2 separate regions of the Homo sapiens genome follow, and region 2 is linked to region 1. The links are contacts of gene promoters, found by promoter capture Hi-C in blood cells and fetal thymus (Javierre and others, 2016). All regions are on one chromosome and are shown on one strand. Each heading gives the region's core, a stretch centred on a gene start or on the middle of the fragment in contact. The rest is flanking DNA. Distances are from core to core; before and after follow the strand shown.

What was found. The method cuts DNA at HindIII sites, captures the fragments that hold promoters and counts their contacts. A CHiCAGO score of 5 or more calls a contact.
Region 2: a fragment that was not itself captured here is called in contact with the fragment with the promoter of GPR151 in region 1 in 1 of 17 cell types (monocytes); the score reaches 5.3 in monocytes.

Annotation. Positions count from the first base shown.
Region 1 is chr5:146,513,773-146,518,047 of GRCh38, forward strand. It overlaps GPR151 (G protein-coupled receptor 151), which reads right to left and starts at 2,418. Exons shown (of 1, transcript NM_194251.3): 1 at 1-2,418. The coding sequence starts at 2,341. The coding sequence ends at 1,082. The HindIII fragment of the contact is 3,538 bases long and covers 1-2,929 here.
Region 2 is chr5:146,246,326-146,250,600 of GRCh38, forward strand. The region is part of intron 8 of RBM27-POU4F3 (RBM27-POU4F3 readthrough); the gene reads left to right. All of the region lies in intron 8 of RBM27 (RNA binding motif protein 27), which reads left to right. Among named protein-coding and RNA genes, the nearest start is that of RBM27-POU4F3, 45 kb to the left of the region's middle. The HindIII fragment of the contact is 5,614 bases long and covers 1-4,275 here.

The DNA of each region.
Region 1 (4,275 bases), core at 1,168-3,667:
TGAATTTTCTCTTTTTGATATTAATCTCTTTCTCAGGTTGCTAGATTATTTTTATAACTTAGCCTATAGTATTTTAAAAGTTGAGTAGGGTTCAAGTTCAATGTTCTGAGTAAGGGTAAGTTTAGTACCATTAACAAGAAAGATCACCATCTCCATCTTCTATTTGTATTTGAGGAGTAATCTATACCTATATCATTAACCATGGTTTATCTTGGGAGAAAGGAGATATTAGGAGGAACACATTTCTGCTTATAGAAAAATAACTTTCCCACATTTTGGAAGTGAAGAGAGGACATTTTTTTAAGTATTTTTTCCCCCATATCAGACTACTGAATGTCATTGGAAAGCTGCTACAATTCTTAGACTTAGAAACTGAAGACTCATTCAGGTAGCTTTAAAAAGTTCACTGAAGCAGGCTTTAGTTTAAGTTTGAATTTATTTAAACTTGGCCAGAACCAGCCATGGCTTGAAATGAGTCCAGAATTGGAATAAGGTGCTGTTTCTTTTTCTTTGACCTTCAGTCATGAACATTATGATACGGACTTTTCATCAAGTAAATTAACACTTATTAAGTAAATGAAGAACGCATTAAAATTTATCATTAATGTGTTAAAAATCTCAAGTGAAAGTAGATTTTGAGCTTTGGTTATGTGAAATACAATTTAGTAGGTAAAATTAGGACTAGCAGGTCCTGGGTGAAACTGAAGGTAAAGGGGCTCAGCTTTGACAGAACCTCTACTGCAGGCTCCAGCCGGTCCACTACAGGGCTGGTCCTAGGGGGTACCCAGTAAAACCACTGTGAACAAATGACAGAATAGCCAGGCTGTCTAATCACTTTGACAGCAACATCTTTACACAACACTTAAATTGTTTGGGAAGCCAAGTTCTAATTCTGAAACAATTATTACTTCTAACATGGTTCTCTACTTACCACATTGCACATTTGGAAAGTGTAGATTGTGAAATATTTTTATAATTCCTAATGGTAATAATTATATCAGTTTGTAAAGTCAGCAATATTGATAAGCAGCAGTACAAGTAAATACAATAATCACAGTTTGTTTTGCTTTGAAACTTAAATCTATTTAACACCTTCCCCTGTCTCTTGATCTTCATGTTCCCAGGGGATAGGGTCATTGTCCTGTACAGAAGGGACTGTGTCCCTCTCATGCCAAAACTGCTCTACGTCAGGAAGGATGGGAATCTCTGCCTTCTCAGTTTTCCCTTTGCCAGAGGAGGGAGAGCTGGGTTTCTCTTTTTCTGGTATGGATGCTGGGGATTCTGGAGATGGAACCTTGTCAGGAAGACCCTCTGAGTTGCCAGCTGGTGTTTCCTGAGACTCTGAGACAGTTGGAGGTTTTTTGGTTATCATCCATTTCCATACACCTTTCAAGCCTTCCCTGAACTCTTCCGACATCACAAGAAAAATGAGAGGATTTGCTGAAGAGATGGAAAACATCAAGACTTGAGACAGGGCTATGAAACCTTGTGGTGGGGCCGGGCCTGCAGCCTTCAGATGCCATACCCACAGCCAAGCTACCCATTCGGGGAGCCACAAGAGAGCAGAGATGATGGCAATGCTCAGCAGCATCACTGTGACTTGCTTTGAGCGTATCTGGTTTCTAAGATTTTGAGTCTTAGTTCCTCGTTTTTTACATTGGTCATAAGCTCTCCAGAAATAAAAGCTGGCAAAAAATAATGGAAGGCCAAATGCCAGGAGTGGGTAGAGCTTACCAAACATCGACATAAACTCTTCAGCCACAGCTGGTACATCCACGAGGCACATTTCCACACCTTCATGATGCCTGATGGTGCTAAAGAACCATTCCGGCAGGGGTAACAGGCTAGCCACAGTCCAGATGGCCACCAGCACTGACCAGATGGTGTAGTTGTGGATACTCACTTGCTTGGCTGGGTCACTTGCATACATGAAGCATACTTTGGCCACCACAACGATTGTCAGGCTCTTGGCTGCCATGCATGTGTGGATAAACCAGTCAGAGGACTTGCAGACAAACCAGCCTAGATCCCAAACACTTTTGGAGTACGCCGTAGCTCGGATAGGTGCAGAAAACAGCAGGAGGGAGAGATCAGCCAGGCTGAGATTCAGAATCAGGGAGTGGATCATGGATGGCTTTCCTTTCCAAGCATTGTGAAGGAGGATGCCAATCACACACAGGTTTCCCACGAAGCCCACCAGGCAGACAGCCACCAAGAGAGCCGGGATGATGGTTCTCCAGTCCTGGGAATCAGAGGGCAGGTACCCTCCGGCAAAGTGGAGGTGAGCAAAGGACACATTCATGCTGCTGGAGTTAGAGTCTGCAAAGGCAGCTGCCAGCATCACTCTTCACAGCTTCTTACAGAAGTTAGATTCTTATTTAGGTTTGTCTTTCTGCCTGGGCTCTTTTGCATAGGAAATAAGTACTCTGTCGTCAGTGTCAAATGACACTTCTGGATCCTCCCCTTGCTTATTTCCTGAGAGCAGAATGTGGAAGGAGGCTGGCTGTTAAGCTCTTCTCTGCTGCATACAATATACTTGTGACTGTACCGACTGTCAGATAGCAGGAGCACATGGCTGCTGCTCATTAGCAAGTCTAATACCAAATCGTCAGCCCTGTGGAGTAATACAAATATACCCATAAATGATGAATGAAGAGAACATACATGTAAGTGGCATGTGTTCCTTGGGGGGTCACTAGAGCCAGTCAAGGCAATTATTTTCAACCAGCTCTTCCTAAAATCTTGACTGCTGTCTGTAATTTAGTGAACACTACATCTGAACCAAGTTCTTTGAACTTCACCTGATGGCCGGATCCAGTGGGTCTGGAGTAGGGCCCAAGAAATCATTTCTAACAAGTTCCCATGAGACTCTGATGCTGCAGGTTGGGAGACCACACTTTGAGAACCACTGTTTTAAACTGAGAACTAAAGCTTCCCCTACCCACTCTGCAGAGATGAGCTTCCTCTTCTTTTCCCCAACCCTTACAACCACCTCAGTTCCATCAACAGCTGGCTGAGTTCAAACACAGCTGGATAATGAAAACAAGTTAGAAGTCCTATTAAAAAAATCTAATTATGGATGACTCTCAGTTTATTCTATTACGAGTTTTTAGAAGCAATTTTACAGCTCCAAATTAGAACTGCTTTACATACTAATAAGACTTTTCAACAAGTGATGGTGATGAAGGCAACTGCATGATGAATTAAGCTGCTTTTCAGAGAGCATTCCTAGAGGATTTACCAAGACAAGAGAAATGAAAGAAAAATCAATATCTATGTGGAAGGCATTTAAGAGATTTTTTTAAATTATATTTTAAAGTTGGTAAAGATTTTGTGCTGGGCACACTGGCTCATGCCTGTAATCCCAGAATTTGGGGAGGTGGAGGCGGGAGGATTGCTTAAGGCCAGAAGTTCGAGACCAGCCTGGGCAACAAAGTGAGACCCCTGCCCCCACCTCTACCAAACAAACAAGAAAAAAAAAAAAAAGAAAAAAAAAAAAGTCAGCCATGATGGTGTACACCTGTAGTCCTAGCTACTTAAGAGACTGAGGTGAGAGGGTTGCTTAAGCCCAGGAGTTCGAGGTTGCAGTGAGCTATGACTGTGCTGCTGCACTCCAACCTGAGTGACAGAGTGATCCTCTGTCTCTAGAAATAAAAAAATTCTCAGATAAGATGATTTGGTAGAACTAGCCCTGAAATTTTAAAATAAGCAATGGATACTCTGGGGGGATTAGAGGAGCTCAAAATGTTCAGAGAATGGGGTTTGTGGGGTTGATATGAAGATACATGCTACATTGAGTGTGGCTAGTCAGAAAAGCTAAAGCATGATATACAGGAGAGTATGCTGCTGCATTCAGATCTCTGGATTCTGGTACTGTGCTTTCACGTTTTTCGCAAGTAAAGAAGGGTCTGACGTTTTAAAATTCTTCAGTGTCCTAGAAAATAAATAAGTAGTGATCAGTATAGCTATTGGGACAGTGGTCAGTGGTGCTGGGTTCCTTTGTTTCCATTTCTATTTCCTTTTGCTTTCCTTCCTTTTACCTCTGGGAAGTAGTTGTTCCTATAGAACAGTAAATTGGGGCAACACCTTATTCCAGCAAGGCACAGTAACTCCCAGTAACTACTTAAGGATGAAATATCCTTGAGTCTCAACAAGCATCACTTTTGGGTGTGAAGAGGCCCGCAACGTCTTACAGGGAAGAAAATGGGGGAGGGAGCAGAGTGATGTTTTGCAGATTGTAGACTACAAGGAAGGTAGTTCACTTGATGTATGTGG
Region 2 (4,275 bases), core at 1,281-3,780, 270 kb before region 1:
TCTGACTAGAGTTAATATTAAGAAGTTGAAAATATTGATATTAGGCATGTTACCTATATGAACAATTTAAGATGGGAACATGAACTTGGGATGTTTGCAGTTTGGAAACTACTCTGACCAAAACTAAACTGAATGAATATAAATTCTGACAGACTGATCTTCACCATTACTGTAACCTATTTGATAGTGAACATTTTTTAATGTAGCTGGGCGTGTGGGCATGTGACTGTAGTCCCAGCCTCTTGGGAGGCTGAGGCAGGGGAAGATACCTTGAGGCCAAGAGTTCCAGCTGCAGTGAGCTATGATCACACCTATGAATAGCCACTGTACTTTAGCCTGGATAACATAGTAAGACCTCATCTCAAATTTAAAAGAGAAAACATATTATGATGGAAAATTTCAAATACAACATACATAAAAGTAGACTGTGTAATGTAGTGAATCTTCATGTACTTATTTCTGGCTTCAACAGTTAATCAATGTGGTTAATCTTGCTTCATCCATAACCTACTCCTGACTTGATTATTTTAGTGCTGTGGTTTTTTTTTTTTTTTTTTAGACAAGGTCTTGCTCTGTCACCCAGCCTTGAGTACAGTGGCACAATCTTGGCTCACTGCAGTCTTGACCTCCTGGGCTCAAGCAGGCCTCCTGTCTCAGCCTCATGAGTAGCTGGGAGCACAGATGCGTGCCACCATACCTGGCTGATTTTTAAATTTTTTGTAGAGATGAGGGCTCCCCATGTTGCCCAGGCTGGTCTCAAACTCCTGGGCTCAAGCAGTCCTCCAGCCTCAGCCTCTCAAAGTGCTGGGATTACAGATGTGAGCCATCACACCTGGCCTTAGTTTTTATTTTTGTTTTCTTTTTTATTGCTCCTCAAAATTCAGCTTAATGACATGATTGTTTTAGAATAAGTCCCAAATATAGTAGCATTTCATCTGTAAAAACTTATGTATCTTTGAAGATAAGAATTAAACATACATACACACAAAATCCTACATACACACAGTACTATTATCACAGTCCCCCCCAAAATTTGTAACAGTTTACTATTCCTTGTGAAATATCCAGTTAGTTTTCATATTTCTCAATTGTATCATAAATGCCCTTTTGTACCTGGTTTATTTGACGCTATATCCAAACAGGGTTATACATTACGTTTAGTTGATATCTTTCTTAAGTCTTTATAGAAATATCCTTTACTTCTTTTTTTTTCTCCCTTGGCGTTTATTTGTTGAAGAAATAGATCATTTGTCCTAAAGAATTTTCTCACATTCTAGACTTGGCAGATTGATCTTCTGGTGTCATCTAACACATTCCTCTATCCCCTGTATTACCTGTAAATTTGAAGTTAGAGCTAGGTATTTGATAAAATTCAATTTTTTTCTTTTTTTGGCAAGAACATTTTATAGATGGCGTTATGTACTTCCTACACAGTACATTATAATGCTCATGATGTCTGGTTGTCTCCTTTCTGTGTTATAAATATTGATTAGTGTGTAAAGGTGTTTTCATCCTGATCCATTCATTTTAAAACTTGCTTGATGGTTTCAACAGCCATTTTTGATCATTGCCTGGATTTGCTGTTGTATGTGAAACTCTAAATCTATAGTTTCTTCTACATTTATTGCTAGCATTCCATATAGTTGACTATAACAACCATTTGGTTAACCTGAAATGCAGTTTTTACAGAAGAGACATGATATATGTGTATTTTCTTTCATTTATCAATTTTAAGAATGAGTTGATTCCCTAGTTTTTTCCAAAGGGAACTCCTGTTTTTTTTTTAAGTATCATTATGAACTCATGAATTTTTAACATTTGATATGTTTCACTCCATTATAGTCTTTTTTGATGTTCAGATTGTCTCATCTTTAATCAATAGGAGCCTCTTCATGTTGGCTTCTGCTAGTTTTTTTTTTTTTTTTTAATTTTTGACATGCCAGTTTTTGATAACTCTCTTGCTTCTGGAAGGACAAGGTATACTAAGGTGTACCAGGCTCATCTTATAAATTTTCTGCCCTGACCTAGAATTAGCCCTTTGTCTAAAGAACTCTGTTGCTTTAGAAGTAGTATTTAGAGACTCAGTAGGAATTGTTTAAGAAAGTCAGGCTACATTTGGATTAATTGCCATCTTTTTGAGGTATTTGTTTTTTATTTTGAGGCAGAGGCTTTCTCTGTTACCCAGGCTGGAGTGCAGTGGTGCAGTCTCGGCTCATTGCAACCTCTGCCTCCTGGGTTCAAGTGATTCTTGTGCCTCAGCCTCCAGAGTAGCTGAGATTACAGACATGCACCACTACGCCTGGCTAATTTTTGTAATTTTAGTAGAGACGGGGTTTCACCCTATTGCCCAGCCTGGTCTCAAATTCCTGAGCTCAAGGGATCCACCCGCCTTGGCCTCCCAAAGTGCTGTAATCACAGGTGTGAGCCATCGTGCTCGGCCTTTCTGTATGTTCTTTGTCAGTAGTTTTAAAAACAGACATTGGGCAAAGTAGCCTTTTGGTTTCCAGTTTACTTTGAGACAGCTATTATTAATTAGACATACTTAATTAGATAGTATACTTAGTACATCAAGTGATGTATCATACATTTAAAGTAGTCATATGGACTAAGATTGTACTTCCCATTTTTCTATATATGTATGTATTTCTATTTTTTAATTAATTTTTTTTCTTTTAAAGACAGCATCTCACCCTGTCACCTAAGCTGGAGTACAGTGGCACAATCGTGGCTCACTGCAGCTTTGACCTTCTGGCTCAAGTGATCCTCCTGCCCTAGCCTTCCAAATAGCTAGGACTACAGCTGTGCGCCACCATGCATGGCTAATTTTTAAAATATTTAGTAGAGACAGAGTCTCGGTATGTTACTCAGGCTGGTCTCAAACTCCTGAGCTCAAGTAATCCTCACACCTTGGCCTCCCAAATTGTTGGGTTTATGGATGTGAGCTACTGCACCTGGCCCCATTTTTCTCTTTAACATACTACTACATTCTGCTGATAGGTCACTCTTCACAAGTAATTCCCTGCCATTGATTGTGTGCTTACAACTATTTGTTCCCCTCATTGAGACTATGTTAAATTGGGCTGGGCACGGTGGCTCACGCCTGTAATTCCAGAAGTTTGGGAGGCCGAGGTGGGTGGATCACCTGAGGTCAGGAGTTTGAGACCAGCCTGGGCAACATGGTGAAACCCCGTCCCTACTAAAAATGCAAAAAATTAGCTGGGCGTGGTGGTGGGCACCAGAAATCCCAGCTACTAGGGAGGCTGAGGCAGGAGAATTGCTTGAACCTGGGAGGCAGAGGTCGCCGTGAGCCCAGATCATGCTACTGCAGCTCCAGCCTGGGCGACAGAGTGAGACTCTCAAAAAAAAAAAAAAAAAAGAAAAAGTAAAAAAAAAAGAAAAAAAGAAAATATGTTATATTGTTTTTGCAGTGTAATAATTAGCTGATTCTTTTTAAATGTACTTTTTTTTCCCCATCAACTTTTATTTTAAGTTCCAGGGTACATATGTAGGATGTACAGGTTTTTTACGTAGGTAAATGTGTGCCATGGTGGTTTGCTGCACAGATCAACCTACCACCTAGGTATTAAGCCCAACATCCATTAGAAATGTAAATTTTAAAAGGGTTAATGCTAAGTGCACAGTTATACAGTATGATTTGTTACTTCCTCTTTTGCTTCTTATATACGAAGAAAAGGGTAGTGAAGTTTAGCATCTCCATATTCCCTTTAGGGACTTACTGTGAAACCAAGTGGTTGCTTTGTAGCCTGTCCTATTAAGGTGCATTTAAAATCTTTAGGAATTTTACAGCTTTTAAGGACATTTCACCAGGTATAAAAAAAATTCAAGGCTGGGCGCTGGGTCCGGTGGCACTTTGGGAGGCCGAGACGGGCAGATCACGAGGTCAGGGGATTGAGACCATCCTGGCTAACACGGTGAAACCCCGTCTCTACTAAAAATACAAAAAAATTAGCCAGGCATGGTGGTGGGCGCCTGTAGTCCCAGCTACTCGGGAGGCTGAGGCAGGAGAATGGCGTGAACCCGGGAGACGGAGCTTGCAGTGAGCACCACTGCACTCCAGCCTGGGTGACAGAGCAAGACTCCGTCTCAAAAAAAAAAAAAAAAAATCCACTTTATTTTGTCTTGTGTCACATAGTAAATGTCTGATGTTGGACATATATAATAACTAAATCATATAAATATGTCTCAAATGGGGTTGTCGGTGAAAAAGATACTGTTAAATGGACACCCAAAGGGATTTTGCTCCTTGATACCTTA